Linked DNA regions of Homo sapiens: regions 1, 2, 3, 5 and 6 are each linked to region 4. Evidence: promoter capture Hi-C in human tissues and cell types (Jung and others, 2019). All regions are on one chromosome and are shown on one strand. The core of a region is centred on a gene start or on the middle of the fragment in contact, and the rest is flanking DNA. Distances in the headings are between cores, read along the strand shown.

Region 1 (3,500 bases), core at 14-2,513, 280 kb before region 4:
TAGAGGCTTATCACTTTTATTAATCTTTTCTAAGAACCAGCTTTTGGTTTCATTGATTTTCTCTATTGATTTTCTGTTTTCTACTTCATTGATTTCTTCTCTAATTTTTATTTTTTCTTTTCTTCTGCTTATTTTGGATTTAATTTGCTCTTCTTTTTCTAGCTTCCTAAGATGTAAGCTTATATAATTGATTCTAGATCTTTCTTCTTTTTTAATATATACATTCAAAGCTGTAAATTTTCTTCTGAGAAATTGTTTTTGCTACATCCCACAAATTTTGATGTTATCTTCCTTTTGTTCAAAGTATTTTTTTAATTTATCTTGCAATTTCTTCTTTTGAACCATGTGTTACTTATATTGTTTAATCTCCACATGTTCAGAAATTTTCCAGTTGTCTGTTGTTGATTTGTAGTTTAATGCTACCATGGTCTGAAAGCCTGCATTGTATGATTTCTATTCTTTCACTTTTGTTAAGGTTTGTTTTATGGCCCAGACTGTAGTCTATCTCGGTGAAGGTCCCATGTGAGCTTGTTAAAAATGTGTATTTTGCTGTTAGATGAAGTAGTCAGTAGACATCAATTGTATCCAATTAATTAATTGTTTTTTTTTTTTTTTGAGACGGAGTCTTCCTCTGTCACCCAGGCTGGAGTGCAGTGGCACAATCTCGGCTCACTACAACCTCCGCCTCCTAGGTTCAAGCCATTCTCCTACCTCAGTCTCCCCAGTAGCTGGGATTACAGGCATGCACCACCATGCCCAGCTAGTTTTTGTATTTTTAGTAGAGATGGGGTTTCACCATGTTGGCTAGGCTGGTCTCGAACTCCCGACCTTGTGATCTGCCCACCTCAGCCTCCCAAAGTGCTGGGATTACAGGCATGAGCCATCGTGCCCGGCCAATTAATTGTATTTTTAAGTTCAACTATATTCCTACTGATTTTCTGCTTTCTGGATCTGTCCATTTCTGATAGAGGGATGTTGAAGTCTTCAACTATAAAGCGGACTCATCTGTTTCTTCTTGCAGCTTTATCAGGTTTTGCCTCGCATATTTTGAGGCTGTGTTGTTCGGTACATAAGGATCGTTATGTCTTCTTGGAGAACTGACCTCTTTATCATTATGTAATACCCTTCTTTATCCCTAACAACTTTCTTTGTTTTGTAGTCTGCACTGTCTAGAATTATAATATATAGCTACTCCTGCTTTCTTTTGGTTAGTGTTTTCATGGTAAATCTTTCACCACTCATTCACTTTTAATCTATATGTGTCATTATATTTAAAGTGGGTTTCTTATAGACAACATATAGTTGGGTCTTATTTTTCTATCCACCCTGACAATCTCTGTCTTTTGATTGGTACATTTAGACCATTGATGTTCAGAGTGATTATTCATATAGTTAGAGTAACATCGATCATATTTGTTACTGTTTTCTATTTGCTGCCCTTATTCTTTTTTTTTTTTTTTTTTTAGATAGAGTCTCATTCTGTCACCCAGGCAGGAGTGCAGTGGCGCGATCTCTGCTCACTGCAAGCTCCGCCTCTCAGGTTCACGCCATTCTCCTGCCTCAGCCTCCTGAGTAGTTGGGACTACAGGCGCCCGCCACCACACCCAGCTAATTTTTTTTTTTTTTTTTGTATTTTAAGTAGAGACAGGGTTTCACCGTGTTAGCCAGGATGGTCTCGATCTCCTGACCTTGTGATCCGCCCATGCCCTTATTCTTTGTTCCTATTTTTGTCTTCTACTCTTCTTCCACCTTTTGTGGTTTTAATTAGCATTTTGTATTATTCTATTTTCTCTCTTTTCTTAGCATATTAGTTATACTTCCTTTTTTACTTTTTTAGTGATTGCCCTAGAGTATACCAAGTATGTTTACAACTAATCGAAATCCACTTCAAAATAACACTATACCACTTCATGGGTAGTGCGAATACTTTATAATAACTAAATGATTCTAATTCCTTCCACCTGTCCCTAGTATGATTGCTGTCATTCATTTTACTTATATATAAGCATACATAAGCTTATATATATGTATATAGATATAAAGATAGATGCATTAGCATACATTGTAGCTGTTAGTAATTTGAACAAACTATTATCTCCTAGGTTAATTAACAATAAAAAATAAAAGTTTTTATTTTACCTTCACTTATTCCTTCTTCAGCGTTCTTCTTTTCTTTACGTAAATCAGAGTTTCTGGCCTATATCATTTTTCTTCTCTTCTAAGAAACTACTTTTTTTTTTTTTTTTTTTTTTTTTTTTGAGACGGAGTCTTGCTCTGTTGCCCAGGCTGGAGTGCAATGGCGCGATCTCGGCTCACTGCAACCTCTGCCTCCCGGGTTCAAGCGATTCTCCTGTCTCAGCCTTCCGAGTAGCTGGGATCACAGGCACGCACCACCACACCCGGCTAATTTTTGTATTTTTAGCAGAGACGGGGTTTCTCCATATTGATCAGGCTGGTCTCGAACTCCTGATCTCAGGTGATCCACCTGCCTCAGCCTCCCAAAATGCTGGGATTACAGGCATGAGCCACCGCACCCGTCAAGAAACTACTTTTAACATCTAGTACAATGCAGGTCTACCAGTAACAAATTCCCTCAATTTTTGTTTATCTAAGAAAGTATTTATTGCTCCTTCACTTTTGAAGGACAGTTTCATAAGGTACAGAATTCTTGTTGATGGGAGGCTTTTCTCAACTCTTTAAGTATTTCACTCCAGTCTCTTCTTGCTTGTATGGTTTCTGAGAAATCAGAGGTAATCCTTCTCTTTGCTCCTCTATAGGTAAGGTGTTCTTTTCCTCTGGCTTCCTTCTGGACTTTTTCTTTATCTTTGGTTTTCTGTAATTGGAAAATAATATGCCTAGGCATAGGGTTTTTTGTTTGTTTTGTTGTTTTTTTTTGTTGTTTTTGGCATTTATCGTGCTTGGTGTTCTCTGAGCTTTTGTGTCTAACAATTTTTTTGGTAAAATTCTCAGTTGTTATTATTGTTTCAAATATTTATCCTGTTCCTTTTTCTCTTCTCCTTCTGGTATTCCTATTGCCTGTATGTTACACCTTTTGTAGTTCTCTCACAGTCTGTGAATATTCTGTTCTGTTTTTTTCAGTCTTTGTTCTTTTTGTTTTCCAGTTTTGGAGGTTTACATTGAGATCTTCTCAAGCGCAGAGACTCTTCCCTCAGCTGTGTCCAATCTACTGATAAGCTCATCAAAGGCATTCTTCATTTCCATTACAGTGTTTTTTATCTCCAGCATTTATTATTTGTTCTCTCTTAGGATCTCCATCTTCCTGCTTACATCGCCCATCTGTTCTGACATGTTGTCCACTTTATCCATTTACAGCCCTTAGCACATTAATCATAGTTGCTTTAAATTATTTATCTGATAATTCCCATATCCCTGCCATGTCTGGAACTGATGCTTGCTCTGTAGATATTGTGTTATTCACCTTTTGGCATGCTTTATAATTTTTTCTCGATAGCCAGACATGATGTAGTGGGTAAGAGGAA
Region 2 (3,265 bases), core at 301-2,800, 390 kb before region 4:
AGAAATGACGATTAACAGCAGAAACAATAACCAATAACATAGACATCTCAATTGGATCAGCTTACACAAATCTGACTGAAAAATTGAAATTAAGGAAACTTTCCACTTGATGGATGCATCAAATAGTAGTTCTGTTTTAATTTATTTGAGAAATCTCCAAACTACTTTCCACAGTGGCTGCATTAATTTACATTCCCACCAATAGTATATAAGTGTTCTCTTTTCTCCACAACCTCTCCAGCATCTGTTACTTTTTGACTTTTTAGTAATAGCCACTCTGACTGATGGGAGATGGGTCTAATTGTGGTTTTTGATTTGCATTTCTCTAACGATTAGTGATGTTGAGCATTTTTTCATATGCTTATTGGTTACGGGTATGTCTCTTTAAAAGTGTCTATTCATGTCCGAGCACAGTGTCTCACTCCTGTAATCCTAGCACTTTGGGAGGCTGAGGTGGGCAGATTGCTTGAGCTCAGAAGTTCAAGACCGGCCTGGCCAATATGGTGAAACCTCATCTCTACAAAACAGTACAAAAAAGTTAGCCAGACATGATGGCATGCACCCGGAGTCCCAGCTACTTTTGGGGCTGAGGCAGAAGGATTGCTTGAACCTGGGAGGTGGAGGCTATAGTAAGTTTAGATTGCACCATTGTGCTCTAGCCTGGGTGACAAAGTGAGACCTTGTCTTGGAAAAAAAAAAAATGTGTCTGTTCATGTCCTTTGCCCATTTTTTAATGGGATTTTTTCTTGTTTATAAATTTGTTTAAGTTGCTTTTAGATTCTGGATATTAGACCTTTGTCAGATGCATAATTTGCAAACATTTTCTCCCATTCTGTAGGTCGTCTGTTTACTCTGTTGATAGTTTCTTTTGCTATGCAGGAGCTCTTTCATTTAATTAGGTACCATTTGTCAATTGCTTTGGTGTCTTTGTCATGAAAGACAACATAGGCATAGGCATATTTGTCAGGGCCTATGTCCAGAATGTTATTTCCTAGGTTATCTTCCAGGATTTTTTATAGTTTTAAGTTTTACTTTTAAGTCTTTAATCCATCTTGAGTTGATTTTTGTACATGGTGTAAGGAAGGGGTCCAGTTCCAATCTTCTGCACATTGCTAGCCAGTTATCCCACCACCATTTATTGAACAGGGAGTCCTTTCTCCATTCCTTGTTTTTGTCAACTTTGTTGAAGATCAGATGGTTGTAGGTGTGCAGCATTATTTGTGGGCTCTCTATTCTGTTCCATTGGTCTATGTGTCTGTTTTGGTACCAGTACCATGCTGTTTTGGTTACTGTAACCTTGTAGTATAGTTTGAAGTTGGGTAATGTGACGCCTTCAGCTTTGTTGTTTTTGCTTAGGATTGCTTTGGCTATTCAGGCTCTTTTGGTTTCATATAAATTTTAGAATCGTTTTTTTCTAATTCTAAAAATTTTTCTAATTTTTCTCTAATTCTGTGAAAAATGTCATTGATAAGTTGATAGGCATACCATTCAATCTGTAAATTGGTTTGGGCAGTATGGCCATTTTAACAATATTGATTCCTTCTTATCCACAAGCATGGAATGTTTTTTCATTTGTTTGTATCATCTCTGATTTCTTTCAGAAAAGAATAATAAAAGAATCTGTTTGAAAGATAATTCTCATTATAGAGCTCTTTCACCTCCCTGGTTAGCTGTATTCCTAGGTATTGCGTATGTGTGTGTCTGTGTGTGTGTATATGTATGTGTGTGTGTATGTGTATGGCTGTTGTGAATGGGATTGCGTTCTTGTTTTGGCACTCAGCTTGGATGTTGTTGGTATATAGAAATGCTACTAATTTTTGTACATTGATCTTGTATCCTGAAACTTTGCTGAAGTTGTTTACCAGATGTAGGAGCTTTGGGGCAGAGAGAATATGAGGTTTTCTAGGTATAAAATCATATCATCTGCAAACATAGATAGTTTGACTTCCTCTTTTCCTGTTTGGATGCCTTTTATTTCTTTCTCTTGCCTGATTGCTCAGTCTAGGACTTCCAGTACTATGTTGAATAGGAGTGGTGAGAGTAGGAATCTTTGTCTTGTTCCAATTCTCAGAGGGAATGCTTCCAGAATTCAGTACAGTCCTGCCTATACTGGGTTGCCCATTCAGTATGTTTTTGGCTGTGAGTTTGTCATAGATGGCTCTTATTATTTTGAGATATATTCCTTCAATGCCTAGTTTGTTTAGGGTTTTAAACATGAAGGGATGTTGAATATTATTGAAATTCTTTTCTGATCTAGTAAGATGATCATGCGGCTTTTGTTTTTAGGTCTGTGTATGTGATGAATCATATTTATTGATTGGCATATGTTGAATCAACCTTGCATGCTAGGGATAAAACCCACTTGATTATGGTGGATTAACTTTTTAATGTGCTACTAGATTCAGTTTGCTAGTATTTTGTTGAGGATTTTTGGATTTATGTTCATCAAGAATGTTGTCTTGTCACCTGAAATAAACTGTTTCTGGTGGTCTTTACTAATAGGTATTGAGAGGAAAAAGCATTTGCCAGAGCAGTAACTGCATACTATGTACCAGAGAGTGTTTTAATTTGCTCAAGGAATAAAACCATATCTGAACAACAGCTGCAATTGGAGTTGCCACCTGGTTAAGCTTACTATAATCCACTGTTATTCTCGAAGATCCACCTGTCTTCTGCCAAATTGGAAAGCATATTGGAGAGTTGAATGGAGATGTGGTGGGAATCACCACCCCTGCATCCTTCAGGTCCTTTATGACCTCTACAGTTCCCCCAGAAATGTCGTATTGCTTTTGGTTTAGTATTTTCCTAGGTAGACACAGTTCTAGTGGCTTCCACTTGGCCTTTCCCACCATAATAGCCCTTACTCCACGATTCAGGGAACCAATGTAGAGATTCTGTGAGCTGCTAAGTATGTCTATTCTAATTGTGCATCCAGAACTGGGGAAATGACCACAGGATGGCATTGGGGCCCATTAGACCCACTGTGAGATGGATCTGAGCTGAAATCCCATTGACCGCATGACCTTCAAAAGTCCCTCCTCTGACTGGCAGGCCACAGTGATATTTTGAGTCTCCTGAAATTAGTGTCAGCTCAGAGCCAATGTCCAGTAAGCCCTGAGAGGTCTGATTATTTCTCTTTTCTCAATGCACAGTTACCCTAGTAAAAAGGCCATACATCTCTTTTGGGGAAAACTGAGAGAAAGATTAACAGTATAAACATTTAGTAGGGTACCAGGGCCTTTCCTCAAGGGCTCCAGCCTCCCCT
Region 3 (3,421 bases), core at 144-2,643, 390 kb after region 4:
GCTGTATTGCTCCTTTTTGGTATCAATGTATTTCTTTGTGTTTAGAAATATTCTTTGTTTTAAAGTCTATTTTGCCTGATATTAATATATAGTCACTCTAATTCTCTTATGCTTATTGTTTGGGTTATATATTTTTCTATAAGTAAAACTTTTAGCTTATTCGAATCTCTGAATTTAAAGTGTATCTTTTAGAGACAATATATAGTCATATCTTGCTTATTCTTTTTAATCCAGACTGAAAAATCTTTGCCCTTTGATCACAAATTTAATGTAATTACCAATATGGCTGGATTTTTCTGCCATTTTGCTATGTGTTTTTTTTTTTTTTTTTTTTTTTTTTTTTGGAGACAGGGTCTCCTCTGTTGCCCAGACTGGAGTGCAGTGGCATAATCTTGGCCCACTGCAGCCTCTGCCTCCTGAGTTCAAGCAATTCTCCCACTTCAGCCTCCCGAGTAGCTGGGATTACAGGCATGCGCCACCACGCCCAATTAATTTTTGCATTTTTAGTAGAGATGGGGTTTCACCATGTTGGACAGTGTGGTCCCGAACTCCTGACTTCAGGTGATCCACCCACCTTGGCCTCCCTAAATGCTGGGACTACAGGCGTGAGCCACCACGCCCAGCCTTGCTATGTATTTTCTATGTTTCGTCTCTTTGTTACTGTTCTTCCTATACTGCTTTCCTTTGTATGAAACAATTTTTTTTTAGTGTAGCAATTTAAGTATCCTACTGACATGTTATCTGTTTTTTTGGTTGTTTCTCTAGGGGTTACAATATACATCTTCATATATTTAATTTTTTTTTTTAAGGTTAATACATGACTAAGCTACAGGAAAAAAAAGCATATATGTATTAGTTTATTATTTACTTATAACCAAATGAAGAAAGGTGTTTATTTTCAGTGATCATAGATTAACCTGGGAGTTAACTATCTTCTTATTTTCTGGCATAAATATCCAAGCTTTTGCATGCTGACCATTTGTTACTCATTTTCATCCTTTTGGCATTCTTGTAACATAGGCATGGACAATAATATTGTCCCACTTTTATGAATAAAGAACTTGAAGCACAGTAAGGATTAGCATCTTGTTTTTGATTCTAGAAACTTAATAAAATGGAAGTGGGACTTCAGTATCAGGGTGTTGATTCTCTGTTTTGTACTTTTCCACCAAATGCCATGCCTATGTCTCTAATATCTCTCTTGGATCAACCAACATGTTAATAAGTTAGGCAGGAAAACTCTAATCTTTTCTCTCAGCCAGCAAATTTAAGAAAGTCATTGTGGTGATGAGTGTACCTAAAGTCTAGAAAATGTCATTGTAAATGATTTTTTTTTTTTTTTGAGACAGAGTCTCGCTGTGTCACCCAGGCTGGAGTGCAGTGGCGTGATCTTGGCTCACTGCAACCTCTGCCTCCCGGGTTCAAGCGATTCTCCTGCCTCAGCCTCCTGAGTAGCTGGGACTACAGGCGCCCGCCACCACGTCCAGCTAATTTGTGTATTTTTAGTAGAGATGGGGTTTCACCATATTGGCCAGGCTGGTCTCGAACTGCTGACCTTGTGATCTGCCCACCTTGGCCTCCCAGAGTGCTGGGATTACAGGCGTGAGCCCCCTTGCAAATTATTCATACATATATTATTTCTCTGGTTCAGGTACATAAATCTTATTTTGTTTTAGCTGAGAATTTTCTTGTGATATTTCTTATTGATGATATTTTTGTTTCTTGCACAAGCCATTTTGACAAAATGTGAAATATATTTATTTAAAATGGTATAAAAATAATTATTTTGTGATATATACATGTCATACTCATTCACTGTCTCTTCCTGGTGTATATAAATTGGCTGCCATATACTGTTACTTTGATTGCACTTTTAACCTAAGTATACTTAGGCTTTTTACCTATTTAAAATTTCTACAGCCATCCATATGCAAGTGTCCGCTTACAGTCCTGTGTAAGGGTTGGGAAAGCACCCTCTTTAAAAGCAGAATTAATTTTGGATAACTGAAATTGAAGAGCTATATATGTTGAAAGTAATTATTATTTATAGCTTTTTTTTTTTTTTTGGTCTGAGACGGAGTCTCACTCTGTCGCCCAGCCTGGAGTGCAGTGGTGTGATCTCTGCTCACTGCAACCTCTGCCTCCCAAGCTCAAGCGGTTCTCCTGCCTCAGCCTGCAGAGTAGCTAGGATTACAGGCCTGCACCACCCTCCCCGGGTAATTTTTGTATTTGTAGTAGAGACGGGGTTTCACCATGTTGGCCAGGCTGGTCTCAAACTCCTGACCTCATGATCTGCCCACCTTAGCCTCCCAAAGTGCTGGGATTATAGGCGTGAGCCACTGCACCAGGCCTGTTTATAGCTTTTAAGATAAGCTCCCTTAGTAAGCTTTGGGGTTCTGAAGCAAGGAGCAAGGAAAATCAAATATAGAAAAAGTTTTAGAAAGACTTTGTATCTTCCTAGAAAAATGTAATTTCCATCTGTCTTTCCAGAATGAGTCAGTTGTTGCCAATTTCAGAGCTGTATAATAGTGGTACATAACTGTGGGTATGCATTGCTGTTCTATTGTGGAGTGTAGTTTGGCTGGATACATACTTTCCTATTATTTTTCTCTTGAATTTTGAAAGTCAGAAAGCTAAAAATGCAAAAAATCCAGTCTAAATATTGTCTATAGTTTTTTAGGATTATAGTGTAATCTGCTCTTTTAACTTATGTATCTCTACAGCCTGCCACCATATAAGCTTTTAATTATAAAATTATGATGCTTGACATTGGGGAGAAAGGAACATAAGCACCCATAATGAGTCATTTTTGTTGACTGTATAAATGAGTCAGAGTTACATGTAAGGATGAGAATATCCTCCTACAATTTTGGTTTTTGATCTTGATTTTTTCCCATTGACTCTCTTTTCTCCCCGCCATTCTCTCTCTTGCACGTAGCACACTTTTGCGCTCTGTCTGCTATTACTGCTATTATAAACCTTTTACTGGACTTCAGTTGTAGTGACCATTAGGTCCTAAACATAGAACTAAGAGCATAAGTGGACTTTAATAGAATACTTATTAATTTTAATATCTAGAGTTCATAATTTAGAATTAATATATGAGAATTTACTGTAAATTAAAAGGGGCTATATACTTGCAATATTAGAACATCCAGTTATCTAGGACTGCCATTATTAATGCCAATGAGAATACCATTCCTCTAAGATTTTCTGGGGAAAAAAAAAGCTAATGAGCCCAGGTAGTTCACATCTGTAGCTCCCTTCCCAGGCCAAGATTCTCTTTAGATCCATGGCCCTTAAATTTTAATGGTTCATTAGAGTTATCTGGAGGGTTTATTAAAACACAGATTTGCTGGGCCACAACCTCAAGTGCCTGATTGAGAAGATTTAGCATGGGGCTTGAGAATTTGTATTTCTT
Region 4 (3,275 bases), core at 286-2,785:
TCAGGAGTATTTTTATTCCCACTTTATAGGCAAGGAAACTGAGGTCAAAACAGTAAGCAACATGTCCTACATGGGTGGTGGAGCCAAGACTTGAACCAAGGCAGCCTGACTCTCAGTTTCCTAGCAATCAAAGGTTCAAATTAGATTATTTCTAGGATCCCTTCTAGTACCACAATTTTGCAACCGTTTGTAATGGACTGACAAAACCACGAGAAATAAATAGACCGGGGAAGAGATTATGATGCAAAAGGAAAGAAAACTAAGTTTTAAAACAAGCTATGCTTTCCAGCCCCACATTTTAATTTTTAACCCATTCCCCATCTTCCTTAGGCAATGTTCCACTAAGTAGGAGGAATAAGGGTGAGAAAGAGAGCTAGTCTTTTACCTAGAAGATTATAATTATGAGATATTTAAAATTCCAGCCAGGCGTGGTGGCTCACGCCTGTAATCCCAGCACTTTGGGAGGCTGAGGCAGGTGGATCACCTGATGTCAGGAGTTTGAGACCAGCCTGACCAACATGGCAAAACCCCATCTCTACTAAAAATACAAAAAAATTAGTCAGGCATGGTGGCAGGCACCTGTAATCCCAGCTACTCGGGAGGCTGAGGCAGGAGAATCGCTTGAACCCGGGAGGCAGAGGTTGCAGTGAGCCAAGATCGTGCCATTGTACTCCAACCTGGCGACAAGAGTGAAACTCTGTCTCAAAAAATAAATAAAATAAAATAAAATAAAATTCCATTATAATATACTATAGAGAAAAGCTAAATGCTAGCACAAAAATAGCAAGCATTTCTTGAATTTATTCAACCAATACTTAGTAAACACCTATTACATGCATAACAGCTCACTAAAGGTGTTGTGTATTAAATAGAATTCTGGTTAAGACAAGACCAATTGAGCATATACATTTATCTCTACTCTCTCAGGAAACTCCACAAAAATTATGGCAAAGATATAGAACCACAAGACAAAACAAATGGGAAGAGGCAACAGCAAATAAGAGATGTCAACAAATCTTTGGAAAAAGAGAAATGAATCAAGCCATAACTGAACTGGTAAAGATGAGAAAGCAGAAACCTAGAAATGCCTAATAAGGTTGCCAACAATAAGCAAACATAATTATGCCACGGAATCTCATACGGCTCAGGATTTGAGACACTAGGTAGGTAAAATCAACCCTCATTACTCACAGCTTCCTTATTTGTGAATTCACCTACTTGCTAGGAATTATTTGTAACCCCCCAAATCAATACTCACAATGTTTTGCGGACATTCACAGACACATGCCGTGGTGAAAAACTTGAGTTGCCTGATGCACATTCCCAGCTGAGGTGGAACAAGCTGACACTCTGCCTTCCTGTCTCAATTTTCATACTGCACACACATGTCTTTTCATGGTCTATTTAGTGCCATGCTGGTTATTACTATTTTTTTTTGCAATTTTTTGCCTTTTATGAGTGATTTTGCTGTTTCGAATGCCCCCCAAGCAGAGTGCTGGAGTGCTGTCTGGTGTTCCTAAGCAGAAGGAGGCTGTGCCTCATGGAGAAAATATGTGTGTTAAATAAGCTCTATTCAGGCATGAGTCATAGTACTGTTATTAGCCATGAGTTCAATGTTGATGAATCAACAATGTATATTAAATAAGGTGTCTTTAAACAGAAACACACACAAAACAAGGTTATGTATTGATTAGCTGACAAAAATGTTGTGACCAGAGGCTCACAGGCACCTAACTCTATATTTCCCCCACAGAGAATAATTCAGTATTTTCTTTTTTTCTTTTTTTTTTTCTTCTGAGACAGAGTTTCGCTCTTGTTGCTTAGGCTGGAGTGCAATTGCGCCATCTCAGCTCACCGCAACCTCCACCTCCCGGGTTGAAGTGATTCTCCTGCCTCAGGCCAGCCTCCCATGTAGCTGGGATTACAGGCATGCGCCACCAAGCCCAGCTGATTTTGTATTTTTAGTAGAGACGGGGTTTCTCCATGTTGTTCAGGCTGGTCTCAAACTCCTGACCTCAGGTGATCCACCTGCCTCGGCCTCCCAAAGTGCTGGGATTACAGGCATGAGCCACCACGCTCAGCAGTATTTTCTAATTCAGTGTTTGTGGCGATTTTATTGAACATAATTGCCAGGAATAATGAAGGAATAATGAGAATTGACTATACCTCTGAAACAAAAATCATAAGATTGGTTGAAAATCTGAAAAAGAAATAGACTACCTAATCCTAACCCCACAAAGCCAAATTCATTAAATTTCTCCCATCCCAACAGCAGATGGGGGGAAAAAACTTGAAAGAAAGGCAATGCAGAAAGCAGAATATTTTTTAAAAGAAATATTAGTTAAACCTTCATAGAAAATAAGAAAAAATGTTGTACCCACAAAATATGAATAGGATGCTATGATAAAGGCATAATTAGAGAACAAGAACTCTTGGAGATTCAAAATATGAGAGCTGAAGTCTAAAGACTAGAAAATAAAGTTGAGGAAATCTTCCAGAAGATAGAAGAAAAGACAAAGAGATGAAGAATAGCCAACATCTGACTACCAGCAGTACAGAAGCACAGAACAGAGGAATGGAGGGAAAGAAATAATGAGAGAAGTGATACAATAAAATTCCCAAGAATTGAGGAACATTTGTTTCCAGATTGAAAGGGCCCACTGTAAACAGCATAATAAATGAAAATAAATCTACACTGAAGTACAAAACAGTGAAGTTTCAGAATATCAAGAATAAACAGAAAAAAAATGTTTCCAGATAGGAAAAAAATAAGTCACATACAAAGGATCAAGGATGAGAATGGCTTTAGACTTAATAACAAAACCAGAAGTTAGAAAGCAATGGATCAATTCCTTTATAACTCTATTGGAAAATTATTTCTCACCTAGGATGCTCTACCCATCCAAATGATCCATCAGAAAGAAAGGTAAAACAACGTTCTTGAAACTGCATTTTCCAACATGCCAAGTTTCAAGAACTTTATCTCCCATGTGACCATTTTCGAGATGTTATTGAAAAAAGTGACTACAAAAACAAGAGCATAAGCCAAAACAAAAAGGAAAAATGGGCTCCCAAAAACAGCAAATTTCAAATAGAAGAGAGAGAATTCCAAGAATGGTGGCCAAGGGAGATCCCAAGATGATAAGAGTACAACAGGCTTGGAGAGCAACTAGCCCAAGTGAGTGGCAGACGCCAGGCTCAAGGAGGGATATTTCCAATGAAAAAATACATGGAGGGGACCCAATGGATCTGACAGATGTTGAAACTTGAAAAGT
Region 5 (3,376 bases), core at 380-2,879, 440 kb after region 4:
TGGGCAAGAGCCTTTAAATGCAACAAACTGCTGCTCACCAATTGTCATCCACAAATCTGAAAAATATCCATCTAGGAAATACAATTCTAGATTTCAAGTACATCTCTAACAGGTAGGTACTAGCTCATCACTACGTCTGTTTCTTCTTGCACTTGCACTGTCAAAATGTACAAGTCCAGATTTACATCTCTTTTAAGTTCTAGCTTATTACTTTTGATTCCTCTTTTGCATCATCAAAATACAGTTTTTTAAACTGACAACTTGATTTTGTTGAGAGGAAGGTCATCTTCTTTGCTCCATAATTGTGAAACATTTTCATATACAGACTTATAAGGACAATATATTTATTATTACAAAGATTAGAATGATCAATTCAACAGGTTTTAAAAAATTTCTTCATCATCTCTTTCCAATTTCCTTATATACACAACTGTGTATTTGACCACTTGTGGACCATATAAGGAAACTTTGGTGCACAAATAATAAAAGATGAAAGACTATTATTACAAGTCCTTTTAGCAAAATGAGATGGTCCAGGTTCTTATCATAGACGTTACATAACTAGGCCCTTTCTGTTGAATGATTACATGAATAATAATCTCATATATATATATATCCCTAGAAATATATTGTTCAGCAGAGCACAGTGGCTCCTGGCTCATTTGGGAAGCTGAAACAGGTAGATCTCTTGAGCCCAGGAGTTCAAGACTAGCCTAGCAACATGGCAAAACCCTGTCTCTACAAAGCAATACAAAAATAAGCTGAGCGTGGTGGCACACGCCTGTAGTCCCAGCTACTCAGGAGGCTGAGGTGGGAGGATCACTTAAGCCCAGGAGGTCAAGACTGCACTGAGCCATGATCTTGCCACTGCATTCCAGCCTGGGTGACAGAGCTAGACCTTGTCTCAAAATAAATAAATAAATAAATAAATAAATAAATAAATAAATAAATAAATAAAAATATTGTTCATGCACTAGTTATTATGTCTGAGAATTTACTTAGGGTCTGAGACTTTGCTTATATAATCAATCTCACCATTATCACTTTGACTACAGTGCTTTTTGTCCCTTTGTGTTTATCTTCTGATTTGAGTAATAACTGCAAAATATCTTCACTTATTTTTCTTCTTGGGTGGAAAATGAAAAATTCTGAATTTGCAACTGTGTTCAATTCAAGCTAAAAAAGAAACACTACAAAGATGATGTTTCTAGACTTCTATAATCAGGGTTCAATTGACCCATACAATAACTGTACTGTATTATTAAAAAAGTAAACTTTGCCTTTATTTTTTGCAAAGTCTTTAAAAAAGAATAAAGCCATGAACTATTATAATCTTTACTAACAGTTAAAATATTTATAAATAAAAGTCAAAAACTAAATTTGGGTCTCTAGTGTTAAGCTTAAGAGTTAAGTCAAGCAAAGAGTGCAACAATACAAACGAGGAAAGACTATTTCAAGAAGCTACAGTCTAACATTGGGGGCAGACAAGTAAGGTGATAATCACAGAACAGTGGTTTAACAGAGTGCTCTAATAATTGATTTATACAAGTGTTATGAGGAAAAAAAGGTGAGGAGCCTAAAACCAGATTGAAGAAGTTCAGAGCAAGTTTCGAAGTTCTTTGCAAAAATATGCAAGAATCGCAGGATATGGGGTGGGGGTGAAAGGTCATATGAAGCAAAAGGAAAAGCATGTGTGGGGTGTGGCAACAGACTGCTGGAGAGGGAGAGTAACAATATACTAAATTATGGAATCTATTCTAAAAGCAATAAGGAATCACTGAGGGACTTTTACCAAATAGAATGGCACAAAGGGGCTGGGTGCTGGGTGAAGTGGCTCACACCTGTAATCCCAGCAATTTGGGTGGTAAGGTGGGCGGACTGCTTAATTACAGGAGTTCAAGACCAGCCTGGGCAACATAGCAAGACCCTATCTCTACAGAAACTTAAAAAAGAAATTAGCCAGGCTTGATGGCACACACTTACAGTCCCAGGTTCTTGGGAGACTGAGGCAGGAAGATCACTTGAGCCTGGCAAGTTGAGGCTGCGGTGAGCCGAGATTGCACCACTGCACCCCAGCCTGGGCAACAGAGCAAAATCCCATCTCAAGAAGGAAAGAGGAACGACATACCAGATTTGTGCTTTGGGTTTTGAAAACTCAAGAAGGGAGGCAACGAATAATCAGGAGGGCAACTGCAGTAATTGAGGCCAAAAATAATGAGGGATACACATTAGCCAGTGGCAATGTTTAAAAAGGCAAAATGGGTGAGAGAAGGAGTCTAGGATGATGCCCCAGTTTTTGCAAATTTGGGGGAAAGTTAACAAACTTTGATATAATATTGTTATTACTATAAATGAAAAATGTATCTTGGAATAAAATCAATTTCCATTCTTTCAACACAAAATCTAGTTGTAGATATCTAAAGGAAATTAATTTCTATATTAATTGTAAAACAGGTAATTATTAGAAGGAAATAATCCCAATAACATTAGCATATAAATCAGTAGACCAGTACTGCAGTTTAGATTTAATCCTGGATATGTTATTAATTAAAATCCAATAGCACATTATCCTGTGATAACAACTAACTAGGGCTGGGTAGTCACTGCCCCCTTTTGGTGGCTAAGAGTTGTCCTGTTCACCACAGTCTCCTGGTTCTATGAAGACATCTGAGTCTGTAACATCTGGACAGATGAACGATATAATTACATTTTTACCAAGAAAGTCTGAAATCATTTACAAGGCCTGTAATTCTCTAGTCCTGTCCATCCTGGCCATGCTGAGTACATAAAAAACTGTTTCAAAAGTGTCTTTTATATATTCACTGAGAATTATGATCATCACTATATGGACAAAACAAGATATATCTTCAGACTGGATATTGCTTGAGCTACCAGTTTATGACTTTCCAGTTAAGGAGGACAGAGGCAAGCTGGCTCCTAAGGCAGGAGACATTCCTCGTGGTGGGAAATAACGAACACATTTTTTAGAACAGTATCATAAATTGTATTTTCTAAAGATGGCCACAACAGCATCTCCTATACCACATTCTTCTAGAATTGCACTGATCTATAAAGACTGCCATGTGCATACGTGGAAATTTCAATTTCAATTAAAATGATATAAATTATAAAATTCAGTTCCTTTGTCTAAGCACACATCAAATGCTAAATAGTGGCTACTATACTGAACAGTGTAGACACAGAACAATCCAATTATCACAGAAAGCCATACTGAACAATAGCCACTTCCCCATCAAGAGTTGGAATCTAATTATCCCCCACTTGAATCCAGGAGGGTTTATGACTCACCTGTAATCAAGAGAATGTGGTGGAAATGATGGTGTATGATAACAAAGCTAGGTTACAAAAGGTAAAG
Region 6 (3,177 bases), core at 396-2,895, 330 kb after region 4:
AATATGCATGATGTATGTTTGTCAAGTAAAATAATTCTCTAATCCTACTACCTGTAACATAATAATTATATTAGTAGAAATAACATCAACTAGTTTTGTATTAGGGACAAAAACACAAACTTTAAAATGTTTCTCATGAGTACTCATGGAATGCTTTTGAAACTTAGTGTTTTATTAGTCATGTGTGAAAGCCACATACATGATTTCTAAGTAGTGGTAATTCCAGCCATGGTGAAAATTGATCTGTGTAGGTCTGTGGTGGAGAGTAATTAAACGAATGGAAAAACTGTTATTTTATACAGTGATAAGTCCTGAATTTCAGCTTACTCCAGAAAGTGGAGTTAGCTACACTCTAGTCACCTTTTTATTGCTGAGGTCTTGGGAATGATTACTCCACTTATAAAAAAGTAGAGTTAATATTCCTAAAACTTTTTTTTGGGGGGGGACGTAGTTTCACTCTTGTCGCCCAGGCTGGAATGCAACGGCATGATCTTGGCTCACTGCAACCTCTGCCTTCTAGGTACAAGCGATTCTCCTGCCTCAACCTCCTGAGTAGCTGGGATTACAGGTGCCCACCACCACGTCGGGCTAATTTTTGTATTTTTAGTAGAGATGGGGTTTCACCATGTTGGCCAGGCTAGTCTGAAACTCCTGACCTCAGGTGATCCACCCGTCTTGGCTCCCAAAGTGCTGGGATTACAGGTGTGAGCCACTGCACCTGGCCCAATATTCCCAAAACTTTTGAATGACCTTAATTATACATCCTCATTTGTATAAATTCTGTTATTTGAATTGCTCTTGGCGATTAAACAGGCAGCAAGGAAAAACCGTTGTGTAATACTTCTCTATATCCTCCCTCTCCCTAAACCAAGCTTGTCCGACCCATGGCCCACAGGCTGCATGCAACCCAGGATGGCTTTGAATATGGTCCAACACAAATTTGTAAACTTTCTTAAAACATTATAAGATTTTTTTGCAATTTTTTTTTAAGCTCATTGGCTATTGTTAGTGTTAGTGTGTTTTATGTGTGCCCCAAGACAATTCTTCTAGTGTACTCCAGGGAAGCCAAAAGATTGGACACTGCTGCATCTAAACTCTTTTTCAAACATTGTGACATATGTTAAACTCAAATTGTTTTTAAAATTGTGTGAGCACAATGTTGTTTTAAAGTATTTGACATTGCATCATTTTTTATTTATTTATTAAGCAGACATTATTTGCTGTAATACAATGCTAGGAGCTGCAAATACCAGTGCAAAAAAGATCAGCTCTCCATACCAGTGTATATAAGACAATTACAGATGTTTGTAAAAGCTATGACAGAATTAAAGCAAGATTATAAGAAAGTTAGACTTTTGGGGATAGCAGTCTCAATGAAGGCTCTCTAAAGGGGGAATATTTGAATTGAGAGGTATTGGACTTGAGATTTAAGGAACAAAATGAGTTGGCCGTGGAGGAGCTGGGGGAAAATTCCAAGCATAGGGAGGAGCAGGTGTTGAGGGCAAAAGAAGAAAAGGGCATTTTGTCACAGAAAAGAGGCCAGTGTGGCTGGAATATGGTATGTATCAATGGTATTTTTAATAGTGAATTTTGTAACTTTTATTTCTAAATGCCAGAATGGATAAAAATAATAATTGACATTTATTTAGTGCTCTCTAGGCTTGGTACAGCCAGTGCAGTCTCTCGACAACTCTCTTAGGAGCTTGGTCATCTGCATTCTGTAGATGACGGAAGTGAGGGCTGGGAAAGTTGGGAAACTCACCCAAGGCAACCTGGCTAACAATGGTATAGTCAGGAATTGGGAAGTGCATTTTTGAGGATTATAACTTTTGAATGCAGATTAACTAGTGTGTATTTGGGAAAGGTTGTAATAAATGGAGAGGGTGAAGTGGGGATGGTTGATGAGTACAAAAAATAGGTAGAATGAATAAGATCTAGTATTTGATAGTACAGCAGTGATTATAGTCAATAATAATTTAATTGTACATTTAAAAATAACGAAAACAGTATAATTGGATTGTTCGTAACACAAAGAATAAATGGTTGAGGTGACAGATACCCCATTTACCCTGATGTAATGATTATAAATTATATACCTCTATCAAGATATCCCATGTGCCCCATATGTATGTATATTTACTATGTACCCACAAAAATTAAAAGTAAAAAAAATATGGAGAGGGTGAGAAAGGCAAGAATGTGGGAATTCATTGTCTATAAAAACAATCATTATTGGGCCTGGCGTGGTGGGTCATGCCTATAATCCCAGCACTTTGGGAGGCCAACGTGGGTGGATCACGAGGTCAGGAGATCAAGACCATCCTGGTTAACACGCTGAAACCCCGTCTGTACTAAAAATACAAAAAATTAGCTGGGCGTGGTGGCGGGCGCCTGTAGTCCCAGCTACTCAGGAGGCTGAGGCAGGAGAATGGCGTGAACCCAGGAGGTGGAGCTTGCAGTGAGCCGAGATTGCGCCACTCCAAACTGGATGACAGAGTGAGGCTCCGTCTCAAAAACAAAACAAAACAAAACAAAACAAAACAAAACAAAACAAAACAAAATGATTATTTTAGATGGCTTAAATATTTTGTAACTATTTTAGTTTTATGTTTAACTAGTTATGATGTAGTTTCAGAGTCAGTTTCTGCTTACCATTTTGAGTATATCTGCTGTCTAAAAGAGGCACTTTAAAGTTGGGAGCAGTGGCTTATACCTGTAATCCCAGCACATTGGGAGGCTGAGGCAGGAGGATTGCTTGAGGTCAGAAGTTGCAGGTTGCAGTGAGCTGTGATTGTGCCACTGCACTTCCAGCCTGGGCAACAGAGCGAGACTCTGTATCTATAAAAACAAACAAAAAGAAGAGGCACTTTAATATTTCATATCTCAGACTCCCAATAACTATTAAGCATTAGCAATGAGGTTATATCATACTGGAGGATGTAACTAATTTCCCCTATTCAGTAACATGCTCACAGACTTTTTCTTCAAATAGCGTTGTTATAGGCATTCCTTTCAGGTTTTCACAGGAAAGGAAGATCTTTGTCTCTCCCTGTGTTTTAGATGAATCGTGTATGGAGTTCAGAGTGACCTTTGGTAATGCATTCTAGCAGATATAGTTAGAATCTCGTGATTTAGTCCTCAGTTGTCACTGCTTGGAAATGTTTCCTGAGTCTTTTT

Evidence for each region. The method cuts DNA at HindIII sites, captures the fragments that hold promoters and counts their contacts. A contact is called where the count stands out against the background at its distance.
Region 1: a fragment that was not itself captured here is called in contact with the fragment with the promoter of IL31RA in region 4 in 2 of the 25 tissues and cell types used here (adrenal gland and aorta).
Region 2: a contact is called between a fragment that was not itself captured here and the fragment with the promoter of IL31RA in region 4, in 2 of the 25 tissues and cell types used here (adrenal gland and hippocampus).
Region 3: a contact is called between a fragment that was not itself captured here and the fragment with the promoter of IL31RA in region 4, in 1 of the 25 tissues and cell types used here (mesenchymal stem cells).
Region 5: a contact is called between a fragment that was not itself captured here and the fragment with the promoter of IL31RA in region 4, in 3 of the 25 tissues and cell types used here (IMR-90 fibroblasts, mesenchymal stem cells and pancreas).
Region 6: a fragment that was not itself captured here is called in contact with the fragment with the promoter of IL31RA in region 4 in 1 of the 25 tissues and cell types used here (pancreas).

The regions. Positions count from the first base shown.
Region 1 is chr5:56,130,554-56,134,053 of GRCh38, reverse strand. All of the region lies in intron 7 of ANKRD55 (ankyrin repeat domain 55), which reads left to right. It overlaps LOC101928419 (a long non-coding RNA gene), which reads right to left. Exons shown (of 2, transcript XR_241794.2): 2 at 2,598-3,500. Among named protein-coding and RNA genes, the nearest start is that of ANKRD55, 100 kb to the left of the region's middle. The HindIII fragment of the contact is 3,461 bases long and covers 1-2,993 here.
Region 2 is chr5:56,237,253-56,240,517 of GRCh38, reverse strand. No RefSeq gene overlaps it. Among named protein-coding and RNA genes, the nearest start is that of ANKRD55, 5.6 kb to the right of the region's middle. RefSeq lists an enhancer at 1-362. The HindIII fragment of the contact is 3,787 bases long and covers 1-3,265 here.
Region 3 is chr5:55,455,810-55,459,230 of GRCh38, reverse strand. The region is part of intron 3 of PLPP1 (phospholipid phosphatase 1); the gene reads left to right. Among named protein-coding and RNA genes, the nearest start is that of MIR5687, 51 kb to the left of the region's middle. The HindIII fragment of the contact is 4,795 bases long and covers 1-3,421 here.
Region 4 is chr5:55,849,617-55,852,891 of GRCh38, reverse strand. It overlaps IL31RA (interleukin 31 receptor A), which reads right to left and starts at 1,535. Exons shown (of 15, transcript NM_139017.7): 1 at 1,259-1,535. The coding sequence starts at 1,321. The HindIII fragment of the contact is 16,782 bases long and covers 1-3,275 here.
Region 5 is chr5:55,406,500-55,409,875 of GRCh38, reverse strand. The region is part of intron 22 of MTREX (Mtr4 exosome RNA helicase); the gene reads right to left. Among named protein-coding and RNA genes, the nearest start is that of MTREX, 100 kb to the right of the region's middle. The HindIII fragment of the contact is 6,080 bases long and covers 1-3,376 here.
Region 6 is chr5:55,522,076-55,525,252 of GRCh38, reverse strand. The region is part of intron 1 of PLPP1 (phospholipid phosphatase 1); the gene reads left to right. Among named protein-coding and RNA genes, the nearest start is that of PLPP1, 11 kb to the left of the region's middle. The HindIII fragment of the contact is 6,739 bases long and covers 1-3,177 here.